Regions from separate parts of the Homo sapiens genome. Here region 1 is linked to region 2. Evidence: promoter capture Hi-C in human tissues and cell types (Jung and others, 2019). All regions are on one chromosome and are shown on one strand. The core of a region is centred on a gene start or on the middle of the fragment in contact, and the rest is flanking DNA. Distances in the headings are between cores, read along the strand shown.

Region 1 (7,238 bases), core at 1,487-3,986, 130 kb before region 2:
ATGCAAGATGGGGAATAGCTATATTTAACAAAACTACATATGCCTTTACCTTATGATGCAGCAATCACACTATTAGGAATTTATTATACGTACATACTTCAAAAATAACAACAACAACAACAAACATATATATCTATATATATAGATATATATATATCTCAGGTTCTTCATTAGCATTTTTTATATTGCAAAAATATTGGATGGAAACTACCTAAATGACAAGTCATAGATGGGTTGAACAGATAATGATATGTGCACATACAATGGAGTTTTTTTTTTTGCTTTTTTTTTTTTTTAGACGGAGTCTCGCTCTGTAGCCCAGGCTGGAGTGCAGTGGCGCAATCTCAGCTCACTGCAATCTCCGCCTCCTGAAATCAAGCAATTCTCCTGCCTCAGCCTTCCAAGTAGCTGGGACTACAGGCGCCCACCACCACACCCAGCTAATTTTTGTATTTTTAGTAGAGACGGAGTTTCACCATGTTGGCCAGGCTGGCCTTGAACTCCTGACCTCAGGTGATCCACCCGCCTTGGCCTCCCAAAGTGTGGGATTACAAGCATGAGCCACTGCACCTGGTTTTTACAATGGAGTTTTATGAAGCTATTTTAAAAATGAAGATTTCTATAAATTTATATAGAATGATTTCCAGGATATATTATTAGTACAAAAAGCAAGGTGAAAACTTTTCCTTTCAGTCATGTGAAACCAGATATACCACTATAACAACTGGGAAGTGGATCAAAATGTGTGATAAAAGCTTTTAGACATTTGTTCAAAAGACAGTGCAGGATTCTAACCCATAAGAGAAGAGAAGCAGGCCGGGCGCGGTGGCTCATGCCTGTAATCCCAGCACTTTTGGAGGCCGAGGTGAGCAGATCACGAGGTCATCCAGACCATCCTGGCTAACACGGTGAAACCCCGTCTCTACTAAACAAAATACAAAAAATTAGCCGGGCATGGTGGCAGGCACCTGTAGTCCCAGCTACTCGGGAGGCTGAGGCAGGAGAATGGCATGAACCCGGGAGCCGGAGTTTCTAGTAAGCCGAGATCACGCCACGTCACTCCAGCCTGGGTGACAGAGCGAGACTCCATCTCAAAAAAAAAAAAAAAAAAAAAAAAAAAAGGAGAAGGAAATGAGGATCCGCAAACTAGGATCTCCATTTTTTTTGCCTGGAGACAACTTTCAGACTGTGGGGCAGGAAAGGGGAAATCCAAGAATAACACCATGGTTTTGCTGAGTTGAGGAATAGATATTAGAGTTTGGGGAGATTAGGAGATTGAGGCAGCCAGAATTTATGGGATAGAGTACTAAAGAGAATGGAGCTACACAAAGAACTCCAGGAATATTAATATGGATCCCCAAGTCTTTGGCTAAATAATAATCTGAGCATACATAGAGTGCACTGACACTTTTCTGCAGCTGGGCGAAGAACTGCCAGGGAGCTATTAGCTGAATTCTTGATGGTCACATAGGGCTGGAAAATGTTTGAATTTCATTTAGCCATAATAAAGAGACCCTGCTGAACACTCAGATTAATCAAAAAAGTCAGAATTAAGTGGTAGGTCTAAATTAGCCCAAGGCAAAAGTTACTACAGACCTGTCCTAACAAAGCTTAAAAACAAGCCTTGAAAAGATCAACCTGATCTGCAAAAAACATAATAGCCTTCCAAAACAAACTGCAATAGTTCTTAAAGAAAGACAAAATCCAAACACTCAAAAATATAACATTTACAATGTCTGCTGTCCAATAAAAACATTATTAGACATGCAAATAAGCAACAAATTATGACCCCAAGCCAGGAAGAAAATCATCATAGGAATTACAGAGGTGACAAAATTAGCAGACAAGGACTTTAAAACCTCCATTATAAATGTGCTCAAAAATTTAAAGAAAAATATGAAGATAATTGAGGATGGAAATGAAAGAGTCAAATGGAACTTCTAAAAGTGAAAAATACAATATATGAAATGGAAACTTCACTGGATGGGATTAGCAAATACAGTAAACACTGAAGAAGAAAAGATCACTGAACAACACTCTTACTAACTTGATCTAGTTGACAATTATAGGATACAACAACCACGAGAAGCAGAATACACAGTTTTCAGTTACACAGTTGTGTGTAAGCAACACTCACCAAGATAGACCATATTCTGTGCCATAAAAGAAATGTTAACGAATTTAAAAGAATAGAAACTATACAATGTATATTTTTGGATCACAATACAATTAAATTAGAAATCAGTGACAAATATATTTGGGTAATACTTACATATTTGGTGACTAAACAATACACTTTAGGCTGGTCATGGTGGCTCATACCTGTAATCCCTGCACTTTGGGAGGCCGAGGCAGGCGGATCACCTGAGGTCAGGAGTTCAAGACCAGCCTGGCCAACATGATGAAACCCCATCTCTACTAAAAATACAAAAAATTGGACTGGGTGCAGTGGCTCATGCCTGTAATCCCAGCATTTTGGGAGGCCAAGGCGGGCAGATCACCTGAGGTCGGGAGTTCAAGACCCGCCTGACCAACATGAAGAAACCCCGTCTCTATTAAAAATACAAAATTAGCCTGGCGTGGTGGCATATGCCTGGAATCCCAGCTACTCAGGAGGTTGAGGCAGGAGAATTGCTGGAACCCAGGAGGCAGAGGTTGCAGTGAGCCGAGATCGTGCCATTGCACTCCAGCCTGGGCAACAAGAGCAAAACTCTGTCTCAAAAAAAAAAGAAAAAAAAATTAGCTGGGTGTGGTGGTGGGCACCTGTAATCCCAGCTACTTGGGAGGCTGAGGCAGGAGAATCGCTTGAATCTGGGAGCCGGGATTGTGCCACTGCACTCCAGCCTGGGCAAAAAAAGTGAAACTCTGTCTCAAAATAAACAAACAAAATAACAAACTTTAAAATAATCCATGGGTCAAAGAAGAAATTGCAAGGTGTATTAGAAAATACTTTGAACTAAATTATAATGGAAATATAACATCCAAAATATTATCTTTGCAAAGTACACATCTGACAAAGGACTAGTATCCAGAATCTACAAGGAACTAACAAATCACCAAGAAAAATAAAACACAATCCCATTAAAAAGTAGGCAAAGGACACAAATAGCCATTTCTCAAAAGAAGGTATACAAATGGCCCACAAACATATGAAAAAATGCTCAACATCGCTAATCATCAGGAAAATGCAAATTAAAACCACAACGAGCTACCACCTTGGTCCTGCAAGAATGGCCATTATTAAAAAGTCAAAAAACAATAGATGTTGGTGTGGATGTGGGGAAAAGAGAACACTTACACATTGCTGCTGGGAATATAAATTAGTACAACCTCTATGGAAAACAGTATGGAGATTCTCTAAAGAGCAAAAAACAGATCTACCATTCAATCCAGCAATCCCACTATTGGGTATCTACCCAAAGGAAAATAAGTAATTATATGAAAAAGACACTTGGACACATATGTTTATAGCAGCACAATTCACAATTGCAAAAATGTGAAACCAACCTAAGTCCCCATCGACTAATGAGTGGATAAAGAAAATGTGGTATATATATATACACATATATATATATACACACACACACACACACACACATATATATATACATAATACATATATATACACACACACATATATATATATACACCATGGAATATTACTCAGCCACGAAAAGGCATGAAATAATGTCCTTTGCAGCAACTTGGATCGAACTGGAGGCCATTACTTTAAGTGTGTATATATGTATACATACATATATATACTTTGTGTGTATATATGTATACATACATATGCAATATGTATATGTACACATATATATACAATGTGTATATATGCTTATAACAATAGTTTATTCTCATTCAACTGTTGGTGGATATATAGATATATAACTGTGTTTACAGTTACATATGTGTAAACACAGTTATATATCTGTATCTGTCTATCTATCCATCTAACACAGAGAGCCCAGAAAAAACCCACACCTACATATGTCCATGGCCAAATGATTTTTGATTAAGGTGCTAAGATTATTTGGTGGGGAAAAGATAGCCTTCTCAGCATATTTTTCCAAAGAGACAATTGGATATTCCTTTGGAAAAAAATATGAATCTTCATTGTTACCTCACACCATACACCATACATAAACATCAACTCAAAAGGATTCATAGACCAAATTATAAATGGTAAAACTATAAAACTTCTAAAAGAAAATATAGGAGAAAATCATCATAAGTTTTCAGTAGGCAAGGAGTTTTTGAATAGGACATAAGAAATACAAACTATAAAAGAAAAAATAAATTGGGCTTTATCAAAATTACATCTTCTGCTCTTCAAAAGACACAACTAAGAAAATGAAAAGACAAGTCATAGTCTGGGATAAAATATCCACAAAATATGTATGTGACAAAGAGCTCACATCAAGAATATATATATTACATATATAAAAATCATATATAATTACATGTATAATTATTATTTTTTAGATGAAGTCTCACTCTGTTGCCCAGGCTGGAGTGCAGTGGTGCAGTCTCGGCTCACTGCAACCTCCGCCTCCTGGGTTCAAGCGATTCTCCTGTCTCAGCCTCCTGAGTAGCTGGGATTACAGGCACCTGCCATCACGCCCAGCTACAAGGATATATTTTAAAACTCCCATAGCTCAATTTTAAGAAGGCGTTCAGCTCAGTTAAAGATGAACGAATGCTTCAAGAAGATATACAAATAGACAACACATGAAAAGTTGCTCAGTGTCTCTAGTCAACAGGGAAAAACAGTTGAAACTTCAATGAGATAGTATCACACACCCACTAGAATTGCTAAAATTTAAAAAATTGACAATAGGAAGCATTGGTGAGAAAATGTAGCAAGCGGAACGCTTTATGCATTGCTCATGAAAATGTAAAGTGATATTACCATTTTGAAAAATAGTTTGGCAGCTTCTTATAAAGTTAAGCATATACTTCCCATTTCATATGACCCCCAAAACAATTCTGTTTTGGGGTATTTATCCAAGAGAAATAAAAAAAATATGCCTACAAAAATACTTGTACATGATTGTTCACATCACTTTAATTCAGAATAGCACTAAACTGGACACAACTCAAATGTCCACCAACAGTTGAATGAATGAACACATTGTGATATATCCACACAATGCAATACTGCTCAACAATCAAATGGAACACGCTGCTGATACACACAGGAACATGAATGAATTTCAAGAACTTTGGAGTAAAAGAAGATGGATACAAAATAGTATATGTTATAGGATTCCATTTAGATGAAATTCTGAAAGAGGCAACACTAATTTATAGTGACAGGAAGCAGACCAGTTGTTGCCTGGAGCTGGAGAAGTAGTGAATTGATTGCAAAGGGGCATGAGGGAACTTTTGAAGGTTATAGAAATGTTCTATATTTTGATTGCATGGTGGTTACACAGATGTAAACAATTGTCAAAATGCATTGCACTGTATAATTTTAAAAGGCAAATTTTATGTTATATAAATTATACTTCAATATAGCTGGTAAGGCTGGATGTGGTGGCTCATGCCTGTAATCCCAGCACTTTGGGAGGGTGAGGCAGGAGGACTGCTTGAGGCTGTGAATTTGTGACCAACCTAAGCAACATAGTGAGACCCCGTCTCCACAAAAAATAGAAAAAATTAGCTGCGCATGGTGTGCATGCCTGTAGTCCCAGCTACTTGGAAGGCTGAGGTGGGAGGATCACTTGAGCCTGGGAGGCAGAGGTTGCAGTGAGCTGAGATCACACCACTGCACTCCAGCCTGTGTGACACAGCAAGACCCTGTCTCAAAAACCAAAACCAATAGCTGGATGTGGTGGCGAATACCTGTAATCCCAGCTACTCGGGAGGCTGAGGCAGTAGAATTGCTTGAACCCGAGAGGTGGAGGTTGCAGTGAGCTGGGATTGTGCCACTGCACTCCAGCCTGGCTGACAGAGTGAGACTCGTCTCCAAAACAAACAAACAAACAAAAACCCAAAACCAAAACAAACAAACAAAATAAAGTTGATAAGTTAAAAAAAAAAACAAAGTGTCAAACAGTATGTACAGGCAGTCCTCATTTTCTGCAGTTGTACGGTATTTTAAAAATTGTTAATGTGGGGGACCTCCTCTTTCAGCTTTGGAACCCCCGCTCCGTCTCTGCAAGGGGGAGCGTCTTCCTTCTCTCTTCTCCCTTCCTTCTTGCTTATTAAACTCTCCACTCCTTAAAACCACTCCACATGTGTCTGTGTCATTTTATCTAAACCAGCATGAGGACCAGGAACCCTGTTGTTCCTCCACTCATCAGAGCCGTATCATTTTGGTGCATGGACTGGGAAAGGAAACTTATTTTAAACTATTTATGGCCTTTAATAATCAAGTAAGGTATACTACTGTGAACAAAATTTGGAGCATGTTCATTTTTCTCTGCCTGGTTCCTCTAAAATTTGGAGACTATCTGTAAGTACTCTTAACTTACGGCAATATAGTTGTTCGCATCAGTGCAGCAAGAATCCATTTTTCTTTGTCAACAGAACACAATTGGAAAAACCGGTTATTTTGCCAAGGCTTTAACTGAAAGGGTGTGTTTCCCTTTAAGGAATCAAGCTTGACATGCAGAGCCAATAAAAGCCCCTTGGGGAGAACTGGCCTCACACCTTGTCTACACAGTCCCCACACAGGGTTCCTAACCTGTGGTCAGTGAAGAATGTCACTTTCTAACAGGTCTGGAAGCTCTGAGTTTATCTTGGGACCTCAAGAGGAGAGGATAACCCAACTCACAGGTATTAGAGGATACAAACCCATGTCTGGGCTCAGCTTTAAAAGTCTAATCTGAAATTCCTTGTGGAACAGTGTTTCATCAAAGCCAATCCAAAAGTCCTATGTAGAAATAACCATTCTTGCTGCACTTCATGCAAATAATCAGGCCAAGTATAAGATTAAAGTTCATTCATAATTAGTTTTTACCAAAAATGAGGACTGGAGAGAAAAATTTTGCTCCAAAGCTTATCATACATTTGTCATTAAACCCTAGTCTCATTAATTGTTTTTAAGCTTTTTGCCTACATTTTAGACTAACCCTGGCCCTGCTTATTCCTGTGAATCAAGTGGTGATCTTCTGCAGCTTGGTGGGGGGGAAAAAGGGATGGGTAATGTGAAAATGTGAATCAATATGCTAGTTCTGGGCAATTATTTTGCAAATTGTGCCAGGTAATGAAAGTAAGTAAGGTACCTGTAA
Region 2 (7,116 bases), core at 3,359-5,858:
AAAAATAAAAATGCAACAGACACACAGCAAGAATGAGAGAAAGTCTTCAATAGTTACCAGAGAGAAAACAGAGATTACCTTAAAAAATAACAGTGTGTTGACAGAAAGTTTCTCACTAGTAACAATAAATTCTACGAGACAAGTGTGTTTTGAAATTTTGGTTTGTATATTTATTTTTAGTGGAAGAGCTCTGTTTGTTTTTAGTTTTAGTTTGTTTTTTTCTCTTCTACACTATATCCCTCTCTCCTTCCCTCCTGGGTTCAGTGCTCATTTGTAATGGTTTTGAAATAGTTTCTATCTGACCTCAGGTCCCAGGCCATAACTAGGTCTCTTAATGACGCTTTAATGATGCACAGCAGTGATATTCTGGATACCACAGCTCACATATGAGATACTTGGTGTTCGCTGTCTCTATCCAGCATCCGTGTCTGTCTCTCTCTCTTGGTCTACACAGCTTACGAAGAAAGTTATAACCACCGGAATTGGGAAACAGCTTTTATTATTATATTTATTTATTTAACAGGGTGTGGCTCTGTCGCCCAGGCTGGAGGGCAGTGGCGCGATCACGGTTCGCTGAAGCCTTGACTTCCTGGGCTCAAGGGATCCTCCCACGTCAGCTCCTGCCCCGCCCCGCCCCGCCCCTCCCCGCCCCGCGTAGCTGGGACTACAGTCGCAGGCCGCCCTGTCCGGCTGGTCTTGAACTCCAGGGCTCCAAGGATCTTTCCGCCTCAGCCTCTCAAATTGTTGGAAATACAGACGTGAGCCACTGCGCCCAGCTAGGCAGCATGTTAATGCATCTTTCTTTTCCTTTTTAACCAGCTGAAGGGCCTCATTGCTTATTTTGGATTCAGGCAGTAAGCCTGGTCCAGATATTTATCTAGTCTGAAGCACTTCTGTCCCTATTACATTGCTGGAGGCAGTTTCCTAACCTTCAATTTCTGCTTTTAAGTCCAAGACTATAACTCACATGGCTTTAGACTAGCTCACCACTTTGCTTTTGCTTTCCTCTTATATTTTATGTATCTCTGTATTTTATTGGAGCAGAGTAAATACATCAAAGCATGGACTTACTCCCCGACCATACTTTTTTTTTCTTCTGAAAAGTTAACACACATTAAAATAGGATATATACTTGATTTTTGTTAGCTGATTTCATTACAGGTATAATGTATAAGTCAGGAGGCTTCAAAGATATTTCTCAAGTTGCATGATAAATTTTGTGTTGTTCATTTTGTTACTTCATACATTACTTAAATAGACGTATTCTTCAGTACAGGCACCACAGCTCACACCTGTAATATCAGCACTTTGAGAGGCTGAGGTGGGAGGATCGCTTGAGCCCAGGAGGTAGTGGCTGCAGTGAGCCATGATCATGCCACTGCACTCTAGCATGACCCCATCTCAAAACCAAAAAAATCTGATAATAAAGATAGAATAAAAGGCTAAAATATTCAACAATAATTTAAAATTGCAGTTTATATAGATCTCTATAATCTTATATGAACACAACTAAAAATACTACTTTAGACAATCTTCACCTCTTCAAATGTCCCCAAATAAACTATCACAGTGTCCTGACAGATGACATCTACATTAAATTCAGGGGTAGATTAGCAGGTACTTATAAAAAGAAAATTTGAAAATAGTGTTAGTCATTTAAATATTGGTGAGCCTTTTCTAATCAAACCTTTTAGCCCAGAGGCAAGTAAGAAAATGTTAGAAGCTAGATCGCCGTTTCTAATGCAGTGCTCTTTCCAAACAGAGATGGCATCTCACACATACCTTCAACCCAACCACCTACATTATGATCACAGTCTCCTTTTCAGTGCAAGAACAATTATAAATATACCTGCATATGAACGTGTAGACTCAATCGTGATTTTGCAGGACTTGTAATAAAAAGCTACAAAGATACATGGGTTAGAAGAACTATCTGTAGCAAAGAGCGAACGCTAGTAAGTTAAATCAAGAATTATTTTTCTCTAGATAGCTGATACATTCATCACAAAAGTTTACCTGAGAAAATGGTTCCTTTTTGTCTTCAAGTAAAGACTGGGGTGCTGATAGAAAACCCTTTTTCTCACAGCTCTCCTGGCTGATGAGTGTGTCCGCATAGTTGGGCTGGGGGAAAATCAGGTGGCTCTTCCGCGAGTCCGCAGTGAGGGAGACCTCGTGGGAATAGGTCTGCAGGAAAGCCCGAACCCCGTCCACGCCCACAAAGTGCGAACCGGGCATGCTCGCTAAGCCGCCTCCCGAAGCCTGTAGCAGACGTGACTTGTGCCAGCGCCGCAGCCTGTGCGCCAGCAGCACGATGACGAAGGCCAGGAAGACGCAGGAGACCGCGGCCGCCGCCACCACCAGGTACAGAGTGAGGTCCGAATCGTTGGGTTTGGCGGAGGGCTCGAGGCTGCCCAGGTCGGCCAGGATGTCGGAGATCCTGTCGGCCACGGCCACGGTGAGCGTGACAGTGGCGGAGAGCGGGGGCTGGCCGTGGTCCTGGACGGCCACCACGAGACTCTGCTTGAGCGCGTCTCTGTCCAGCAGGGCTCGCGCCGTGCGCACCTCGCCCGTGTGCAGACCCACCGAGAAGAGTCCCGGCTCGCTGGCCTTGAGCAGGCGGTAGGACAGCCAGGCGTTCTGGCCCGAGTCTCTGTCCACCGCCACCACCTTGGTCACCAGGTAGCCGGGCTCTGCGGAGAGGGGCGCCAGCTCCACGCCGGTAGAACCATCTGTGGGGAGGGCGGGGTACAGGATCTCGGGCGCGTTGTCGTTCTGGTCCAGCAGGAATAGGCTGAGAGACACGTTGCTGCTGAGGGGCGGATCCCCACTGTCCCGCGCCATCACTTTCAGTTGCATGTCCCGGAACTGCTCATAGTCGAAGGATCGCAGCGCATACAGGACCCCAGTGTCGGAGTTGATGGAGAGGTAGGCAGATAGGGGTGCCCCCTGGATAGTGTCCTCTATTAGGGAGTAAGTGATTTGTGCATTCTCATTGCTGTCCAAGTCGTGGGCCCTCACAGAGAAGATGGAGGCTCCTCTGGGGTTGTTTTCGGGAATGTAGGCAGAGTAGGAGTCCTGATGGAAGACTGGGGAGTTGTCATTGATATCTGTCACTAGTAGTGAAATGTGAGTTTCAGTAGATAGAGCTGGAGTTCCTTGGTCTATTGCTGTTATTGTGATGTTGTACCCAGAGATAAGTTCTCTGTCCAGTGTTCTTTCAGTCACTAAACGGTAATAATTATCAACTAACTTTTCCAATTTAAAGGGTAAATTTCCAGGAATGAAACATGTGGTGTAGCCATTGTCTCCTGAGTCCTGGTCATGCACACTGATAAGAGCAATTATGGTCCCAGGAGGAAAGTTTTCTGGAACTGCAGTGGTGACAGAGGTGATGGTCACTTCTGGGGCATTATCATTTACATCCAAAACTTTGATCAGTACCTTAACTTTAGCCATGAGCCCCGCACCATCCTGGGCTTGAACTTCCATTGAATACATTTTGTATTCTTCGAAATCTAGTGGTTCTTTATTTGATATTTCTCCTGTGTAAGAATCTAAACGAAATATTTGGGCCACTCTGTGGTCTACATTGTGAAAGGAGTACGTTACTTCCCCATTGGCTCCCTCATCAGGGTCAGTGGCATTTACCATGAGCAGCTGAGTACCCAGCGGCACGTTTTCGGGGACATTTATATGGTATTGTGCCTGAGTAAATGCTGGAGGATTGTCATTTGCATCCACCACCTGAATGTAAATTCTGAGGGTCCCTGAACGGACTGGTTCACCCCCATCAGAAGCTGTGAGGATGAGGTGGTGGACAGCTTCTTCTTCTCTGTCTAAGGGACTCTGCAGCACCATCTCTGGATGTTGAGGCCCATCGGCTCCCTGTTGCACATCCAGGGAGAAATGAGGGTTAGAGCTGAGTTGGTAGCTCTGGAGTGAGTTCATACCCACATCAAGGTCTTGCCCAAAAGGCAATGAGACTCTGGTACCTGGAGTCGTTATTTCATTCATTTTAAACTCCAGTTCCTCTAACTGGAATTGGGGAGTGTTGTCATTAATATCAATTATTTCTACTTCAACAGGAAAAAGCTTCATTTTATCCTCAACAAGGATATTAAAACTCACGAGACACGGCATGCTCTGAGCGCAGAGCTCCTCCCGGTCTATCCTGCGCGCGGTGATCAAGCTGCCACTTCTAGGATTCAGAGCGAAAAGCGGCATCCTACCTCTGGAGACGATGCGGACTCCGCCATCTGCCAGCTCCTGGGGTTGCAGCCCTAGGTCCTTGGCGATGTTGCCTACGAAGGAACCTTTGTCTGTCTCTTCCGGCACTGAGTAGTGAATATTCCCAGCCCCAGCTTCCAACAGCAGCTCCAGAGAAAGACACAGAAGCATCAGCCTGCTGCAGCCAGTCAGCTTTTTCTGAATCTTCATGGCTCTCTCACTTCGTAGTTTTCTTCCAGTCCAGTACCAAGGGTATCGTTTCTGCTTTTCTGAGCTGAAATTAACCCAATTTTCAGGAGAATTCTGACTGGAGAGTCATCCAGAAGTAGGATTTAGGCAGTCTTGGACAGTCAGTTTTCAATCTGGCGGTTATGGAGGTTCTAAGAGGCACGAGAGCTTTTTTCTTTTTCTTTTTTTTTTTTTTCCTCCTCCTGACCTGTGTGTACTGCCTGTATCTACCAGATTAGTGAACAGCGGCGCCCACAGTCCTAACCAGTTACTGCATTCCTAGCAAATACTGAAAACCTTCTCATTAACTTGTTATTTTCTTAAGTTTTAGTCTATTGTCAAGGAAATAATTCTACAATATATGTATGAAAAAGAGAAACTATATGTTCACTTCTTTAAATGTGCCTAAATGTCACCAAATTGAAATATACAGGAGAATCCAAGTATTCCCATGTTATCTGCTTTCCAAGTTTGCTATTCAGGGAATTATAGTAAAAACCTAACATTACAATGAGGACAAAATCATCTCTCCACTTTTTCTGTAGTAAAGTTTGACCACTTGGTAATTTCCCAGGCCACATAGAGCAGCTCCCCTTTGACTGGAGGGTGAAAAGTATTAGAGGGAAAAATAATCTTTTAGAATATAAGCTAGACTTTAAAAAAATCATACCATCCCATTTCCTTCCCATTATGATTTGAATATTTATCAGAAACCTTGGGATTTTGAAGAGCATGGTTTAACCCTATCCTTATTTTTCCTCTTTTTTTTTTTTGAAGTGTCTTTGCATTATGTGGGTTTTTAAAAAATTCTTAAGATTCACCAAAGGCAATATATTTTGAAAAAAATAAAACTGGGCTCTTGGAATTTCATTGAAAAGTCACATGAATATATAATTTAGATTTCAAATTTCAGAGACAAAGTCTATGATATTATTCTTCACAGCTGAAAAGAAAAATGGTCTCATCTTTATTTTTAGATAGGCTCTTATAATATGTATTCCTCTATAATCGCACTTAATATTTTCTCCAAGAGAAGTTGGTTTTCTCTTAACAGTATTTTTTAACCAGTTGAGGATGTGGCCTTCTTTTTTTTTTAATCACTGCACTATTAGCAAAGGGTTACTAATTAAAATGTCTCAGGCTTAGAGTGACTTACTTATCTTTACCCCAAAGTTAGAGAAGCATGCTATCTGTACTCCAGAGTCTGATAATTTCAGGAACAAATTCGGCCAGCCAACCCATGGACACCATGACTGAGAAAAGTTAAAAATGAGGAAAGAAAGAAAACAATGAAAGGTCTCAATAATAGTTTTTGGAAAGAGAACTTTAGTTCTTAACCAAATCTACAGTTTCTCAGCTTCTCAAAGACAAGTACATGGAGCCAAAGAGTAGAAATTTAAAGGTGCAATAAATCATCTTCAATATTGCAAGGAAGTAACTCTTTAACAGAGAATGTAACTTTTCAGAATACACATTAATAGGCATAAACTTTTCCCCAAAGAAATTGTGAGCTAATGAGGTAAATTAAAATATACATAAGAACTAGTAAGTAAACCTGTAGAGCTCCCTACTTTCAGCAACCAAAAACACGCAGGAGTGATTTATAAAAGGATGGTAAGTATAAAATAAAAATGTTAAAATATCACACAAATACATTTGAATCAAATGCAACATTTAAAGCTTCATTGCTGCCCACACACAGTGGCTCACGCCTGCAATCCCAGCACTTTGGGAGGCCAAGGTGGGCAGATTACTTGAGGCCAGGAGTTTGAGACCAGCTTGGTCAATATAGTGAACCCCGTTTCTACAAAAACAAAAATAAAACAAAGCTTCATTGCTGGCACTGCAGAGAATACCTGGTTCAAAGCTGTTTCTTGAGTTAAAGAAATTAAGATTTTAAAAATATCTAAAACCACACATACGTTGTAGGAACAGGGCAAATTTCCTTTCTTTAAGTTGGAGACAACTCCATATCCGGGCTTGGACCAGAGATCCAGCTGAAAACAGCCCCAGGCAATGGAGCTATAGGGGGCATTGCAGGTTCAGAGAGATGGCCAGAGTCACACTGAGGAGAAACAGCATGGAGATCAAGGCAACGGCCATCGCCAGCTGTTGGGTGCTGTCTGCTGCCTGCTGTTGGGTGCTGGGCGATTGCTGAGGTCTGGTAGCAACTCCTGCAAACTATGAGCAGCAACCAGGTGATGTTTCAGCGTGATGATTCACCATTGACCACGGTGACCAACAAACCTTGGCAGGTTGCATCTCTGTTACCCACAGTGACACGGCACGCATCTAGCTCGTGCACATCCCTAGTTTGAAGAGCCACATTAGCTGGCCTGAAGCACATGATAGGACAGTCAGCCTTTATGCCCCAGCTGGTGTCCACTTTGGTGATGGGATAGCTGGGTTGCATTGTGAGTGGTGCAGCATCAAAGAGGGCCCCACTTGGCTGCAACTCCTGGCATAGTGTCCTTGCATTTTTGCAATGGTCATCCACCATCACATGCAGGTTCAGGATGACACTGAGCAAGTTGAACCCTGGTCACTGGCCTGCAGAGTCAGCTCAAAGATAGTCTGCATGGTAACCATAGCACTCTGCACTCACTGACATGTAGAATGACAGTGCCCACAGTGGCAGGTCACTGGTCAAGAAGAAACAGG

The links. The method cuts DNA at HindIII sites, captures the fragments that hold promoters and counts their contacts. A contact is called where the count stands out against the background at its distance.
Region 1: a contact is called between a fragment that was not itself captured here and the fragment with the promoter of PCDHGA1 in region 2, in 4 of the 25 tissues and cell types used here (aorta, dorsolateral prefrontal cortex, hippocampus and 1 more).

The regions. Positions count from the first base shown.
Region 1 is chr5:141,457,322-141,464,559 of GRCh38, reverse strand. The region is part of intron 1 of PCDHGA1 (protocadherin gamma subfamily A, 1); the gene reads right to left. All of the region lies in intron 1 of PCDHGA2 (protocadherin gamma subfamily A, 2), which reads right to left. All of the region lies in intron 1 of PCDHGA3 (protocadherin gamma subfamily A, 3), which reads right to left. All of the region lies in intron 1 of PCDHGB1 (protocadherin gamma subfamily B, 1), which reads right to left. It also overlaps PCDHGA4, PCDHGB2, PCDHGA5, PCDHGB3, PCDHGA6 and PCDHGA7, and 10 more genes. Among named protein-coding and RNA genes, the nearest start is that of PCDHGC3, 15 kb to the left of the region's middle. The HindIII fragment of the contact is 8,589 bases long and covers 1-7,030 here.
Region 2 is chr5:141,328,006-141,335,121 of GRCh38, reverse strand. PCDHGA1 (protocadherin gamma subfamily A, 1) reads right to left here and starts at 4,608. Exons shown (of 4, transcript NM_018912.3): 1 at 2,017-4,608. The coding sequence starts at 4,437. It also overlaps PCDHG@. RefSeq lists a silencer at 1,223-1,452. The HindIII fragment of the contact is 6,267 bases long and covers 1,862-7,116 here.